Linked DNA regions of Homo sapiens: region 1 is linked to region 2. The links are contacts of gene promoters, found by promoter capture Hi-C in blood cells and fetal thymus (Javierre and others, 2016). All regions are on one chromosome and are shown on one strand. Each heading gives the region's core, a stretch centred on a gene start or on the middle of the fragment in contact. The rest is flanking DNA. Distances are from core to core; before and after follow the strand shown.

Region 1 (2,700 bases), core at 29-2,528, 2.0 Mb after region 2:
TTGCTTTTAATTGCCTATCAGAATTTAATAGAGTCGAGAAGTTAAAGGATCAAATCAAGTTTAATTAAACTTCGTTTCTAAAGATGACTTGCACGTAATGTCTTAAAATGTTCTCTGCAGTGTTTGTTTGCAATACATTTACCTCTCTGTGGTATGGTGGCAATATCAGTACTTACCTAGAAGGGCTGTTGTGAGGATTAAATAAGCTAACGTATTATAAGCAGACGAGCCCCTGGCATACAGAGTCAGAGTCATATAGTGTTGTTTGTGCTATTATTAATGGAAATTATATATAAGTTCCAAACATATTACCCTTGGTTGCTGGGAAAGCAAAGTACTTCCCATCTAATGGCGTCAAGATGGCAAACATGGTAAGAATTCTAATGAAGAAAGGAACTCACGTCTTTATATAATACAAAAATGTTAATCAATTTGGAAAAAAGAGAAATGCAGAGAGCATTGGAACAGAGATTGGAAAAGATGCAATGCATGAAATATTTGATTTGTTGGTAGAAGTATTGTCTGCCTAGACACTCTTGTGCTTGGTGTCTTCACTCAGGAAGTATTGTATTTGAAAATTAGATTATTTTTCTCCTCTTGCCTCTCAAGAGCTTGCTGATGAATTAGTAGAAATGTATCAATCATAAGAGAAATAAAACAATGACATTTGTTTCAGATGGGTGATGCTTTCCTTTTTGTACCTAATAAATCTCATGTTAAAGCCATCCTCTGACCGTGTCTCAAATCCCATGGGCCTCATAAAAAAATAAGATTGAACTGAGTGTAGAGCCTGAGTTAATTTGATAAAAACTTCTAGGGACGCTCCAGTCTTCCCTACTACTATTGTAATCAACCTCAAATGTTCATTTCTCTCTCTCTCTCTCTTTTTTTTTTTTTTTTTTTTTTTGAGATGGAGTCTCACTCTGTCGCCCAGGCTGGAGTGCTGTGGCGCAATCTGGGCTCATAGCAAGCTCCGCCTCCTGGGTTCACGCCATTCTCCTGCCTCAGCCTCCCGAGTAGCTGGGACTACAGGCGTCCGCCACTACGCCCGGCTGATTTTTTTTGTGTGTGTATTTTTAGTAGACACAGGGTTTCACCATGTTAGCCAGGTTGGCCTCAATCTCCTGACCTCATGATCCACCTGCCTCGGCCTCCCAAAGTGCTCGGATTACAGGCTTGAGCCACCGAGCCCGGCCCATTTCTCTTTATTTATATATGCAAACCTATGAGAAGCCTGCTGATGTGTACATTTGTTTACAATGAGAACTACTGAAGCCTTAGGCAAGATGACAAGGCAGTTCCCATGACAGCAGACATAATGTACAACTTTGTACCATTTCAGCTCCCTGGAATAGTAGCAGACTTATCAGTAACACACATGTCAAATAATGCTATAGTTTATTACTTGTATTCTCCATTCAATAATCTGACAAATACACTAGGTATTTGTTGTAGAAAGACTACTCAGCCACCAGCTTTCCCCTTCCTCCTAGCATCCTGATGTCCTTTTTCTCAAATCTACAAACACACCCCCCAACACACACACCAAAAATGCTTTTGTTGAGAAGTGTTAGTGCCCGCTGTTTAGAAACCTGAATGGAGGCCGGGCGCGGTGGCTCACGCCTGTAATCCCAGCACTTTGGGAGGCCGAGGCGGGTGGATCAGGAGGTCAGGAGATCGAGACCATCCTGGCTAACACGGTGAAACCCCGTCTCTACTAAAAATACAAAAAAAATTAGCCGGGCGCGGTGGCGGGCGCCTGTAGTCCCAGCTACTCGGGAGGCTGAGGCAGGAGAATGGAGTGAACCCGGGAGGCGGAGCTTGCAGTGAGCCGAGATTGCGCCACTGCAGTCCGCAGTCCGGCCTGGGCGACAGAGCGAGACTCCGTCTCAAAAAAAAAAAAAAAAAAAAAAAAAAAAAAAAGAAACCTGAATGGAAAAACAAATCCCCCTCCCACTCTCCATCTAATAACAAGCTGGCTTGATTGACAGATGACTAATCTGCACAGGTAGAAAGGTGAGTAGGAGAGGAGAAAGCTGTTGTCGATTACAAGGGCAACAGAAATAATCAGAAATTCCTGGCTTTCAGTGAAAATATTAAGGTGAGTCAAACAATAAATTAAATACATGTTACCATCTACTTTATTATTCCACATACAAATGACAACCTGTTAATGACATCTGCCACTCACTAGAAGCACAGCATATGCATTTCCCAATAGCTGCTTTAAAACTGGAAAAATCCTAATCCCAGTAAGACAGGAAAATGCTATCAGAGTTCTTGCAGCATATACTCATGCCATTATCCTGTTGTTTACCGCATAGATGTGAACAGAGGTTAAATATACACTTCTTGAATTTGCATAAAATGTAAAATCATTTAAATAAAATTTATTTGCATTGCTTTATTCATATACACTTTGCTAAAGGTTTTAAAAATAATATAAACTCAATATCTCTTATCAACTTTCCCCAAAATATTTTTTGTGGCCAAAGTTATGGTTTCAAGTCAAGTATATTTTAATATGTATTTTAATAATGTTGAAATTTTGATGTTTATTCAAAATAAGAATTCTATATTCTTAAAAGCATTTTTAGATACTCTTTCTCTAAACAATTTAATTAAAAATTCCTGACTAGCTGAAGAGCTTTGGGCAAGTAATTTTAACATATTTGGGTCTCAATTTACTTCTCTGCAAAA
Region 2 (2,700 bases), core at 136-2,635:
ATACAAATGGTGTAGTTGAATGGTATATTGGAAATTATATCTATTGCAATTAAAATTGTGTGAGCAATTTGAAAGAAAAGAAAAAAAGAAACATCCCTTTCATCTTTCAGAGTGTATTTCCTTATGTGTCAAACTGGAATATTTCTATCTGTGGCCAGTTCCCCGGGATGCTGCTAGAAACACGTGAGACAGCGCGTTCATTTGCTCTACAAAAAGCGAATGAAGGCGCAGTTACCAGGCCAGTCAACCCAGGCTGTTTAAGGTCAACTACTGGGGGACTTCCACGTCACCTCGATATATACGTAACGCGTGTGTGCCGTAACCCGTGAACTATGGAATCCCTAACCGCGAATCACGTGGCTGCTGCCCCGCGGACGCCCTAGACGACGTGAGGGAAGGCGGTGCCGGGCGGGGCCTGTGCCAGGCTGGCGGGCCGCCGCAGACAGAGCTACCCGGAGCAACCGTTCAGGGGTGAGGCCGGAAGTCCCATCCGACCTCGCGGGCAGCCAGCGCTAGGCCGATTCGAACTCGACCTTGTTTTGGCGTTGCTAGGAGACGCGGCTCCTGCGCGCCCCCTACAGGCCGGCGCCCGGGCGGCGCGCGGGCAGGGGGCGGGGACTGTCGCGTGGAGCTGCCGGGCGAGCACCGTTAGGGCAGCCTGGCGCGCGGCGCCCGCCAGGCGCCCAGTCCTCTGCCATCGCCCACGCCTCCCTGGTGCCAGGGAACAGGTATCAGCGCGCCTCCCCAGCGGCTGGGAGAGACGCTGAATGAAGAAGAGGGAAGGACGGTTAGTCAGGTGAGCCGCGGCGGGGTGGGCGGCCGGGGCGGCCACGCCCTGCCGAGGGAGAAGAGCCGGTCGTGTGCGGAGGGACAGGGTGAAGGGATCCCACTTCGGGGAGGATGGGCTTATCCCGGCGGGCGCGCCAGGTGGGATCTCTAGCGCCTCAGGGGCCCGCGCGGCAACAGCCGGCACCCTCGGGCCCGCGGACAAAGGGTTAACGCGTTGGCAGTGACTGCGGGCCCCGGATGTGAGAGCCTTGGCTTGACGCCCTGGCTGCGCTGCAGGTGCGCCGGGCCGAACGGAGCCGGCAGCCTGGCGGCGACCTGACCGCCCGAGGCTCCCCTTCACCTGCAGCGGCTGCTCGGCTCCCTCTGGGAACGCCGCCTTTTCTAACTTAAGGGCAACAGGTGGTGCCGGTGGACCGAGAGAGAGCTCAGCTCCGCCGCGCTGGGAGCGGCAGTTACCCTCACCAATTAGGGAGCGGGGGCGGGAGTTGCATGGCTTCCCTGATGCGGGTGACCAATGGGATTTGGGATCATGAGTGGACCGGGAGGAGTGGGCGTGGTCGGAGTCTGAGTCCAAGGTTTCTCGTGCGGCAACTGCCAGAGCTGCTTGGAGAGCTAAGCTGGAAGGGTGCTTATCCCTGCGTAGAAACGCCTGCCAATGCTTTCTCATTTGGACCCAGACTCCAGATCGGGAGGTGAGAACGTTGTTATTTTGCAAGGGGTAGGAGGTAATAGTGATCTTGGGTATGCTGTTAAGCATGTGGAATTAGATTCCGAAGATAGGACTATCTGCTATGAGTTTTCTGCCAGATAGGCACTTTGTGGTTACGGCCACTTAGACCAGATACTGGTGACTGGGTTCTTTCCAGAATGAGGTCTTTGAGGTTTGGGGACCCAGGAGAAAAACGTACATATTACTGCAATTTAAGTAAACCAGATAATTTCAATCACTGTTATTCCATCGTTTGTCTTGGACTGTGTGTGTTTTCATGTACGTTTCATATCTCGTCTGGTTTGTTTAGCGCAGCAAGTTATAGTAAGTTCTTCGTGTTGTTTATTTTAGCAAAGTAGAGCAAACCTGTTTTAATGTATTATTTCGGGAGAATAACTTATTCCTTCTTCCGTCTCCCAGCAGTCTTATAGCTGGATCAGCTACCAAGAGAAGTTGTAAACCAAGAAGAGAAAAGCATTTCAATTTGGGACATTTATTTGCACCTGGAAATGGGGAATGGGCTGTCAGACCAGACTTCTATCCTGTCCAACCTGCCTTCATTTCAGTCTTTCCACATTGTTATTCTGGGTTTGGACTGTGCTGGAAAGACAACTGTCTTATACAGGCTGCAGTTCAATGAATTTGTAAATACCGTACCTACCAAAGGATTTAACACTGAGAAAATTAAGGTAACCTTGGGAAATTCTAAAACAGTCACTTTTCACTTCTGGGATGTAGGTGGTCAGGAGAAATTAAGGCCACTGTGGAAGTCATATACCAGATGCACAGATGGCATTGTATTTGTTGTGGACTCTGTTGATGTCGAAAGGATGGAAGAAGCCAAAACTGAACTTCACAAAATAACTAGGATATCAGAAAATCAGGGAGTCCCTGTACTTATAGTTGCTAACAAACAAGATTTGAGGAACTCATTGTCACTTTCAGAAATTGAGAAATTGTTAGCAATGGGTGAACTGAGCTCATCAACTCCTTGGCATTTGCAGCCTACCTGTGCAATCATAGGAGATGGCCTAAAGGAAGGACTTGAGAAACTACATGATATGATCATTAAAAGAAGAAAAATGTTGCGGCAACAGAAAAAGAAAAGATGAATATCAATACCTATTATATCTGTGTGGAGTAGGTTTTCTCTGGTCTGATTTTGACAAATAGAAGAGTGTCTACAGCGTGGTTTGCCTGTC

Evidence for each region. Contacts are between HindIII fragments. The CHiCAGO score rates a contact against its expected background, and 5 or more counts as called.
Region 1: a fragment that was not itself captured here is called in contact with the fragment with the promoter of ARL4A in region 2 in 1 of 17 cell types (M1 macrophages); the score reaches 5.1 in M1 macrophages.

Annotation. Positions count from the first base shown.
Region 1 is chr7:14,694,611-14,697,310 of GRCh38, forward strand. All of the region lies in intron 8 of DGKB (diacylglycerol kinase beta), which reads right to left. Among named protein-coding and RNA genes, the nearest start is that of DGKB, 210 kb to the right of the region's middle. The HindIII fragment of the contact is 6,153 bases long and covers 1-2,700 here.
Region 2 is chr7:12,686,248-12,688,947 of GRCh38, forward strand. It overlaps ARL4A (ARF like GTPase 4A), which reads left to right and starts at 1,386. Exons shown (of 2, transcript NM_005738.5): 1 at 1,386-1,481; 2 at 1,919-2,700. The coding sequence starts at 2,008. The coding sequence ends at 2,610. It also overlaps the pseudogene LOC100505995. RefSeq lists silencers at 421-700, 901-950 and an enhancer at 895-1,431. The HindIII fragment of the contact is 3,768 bases long and covers 1-2,700 here.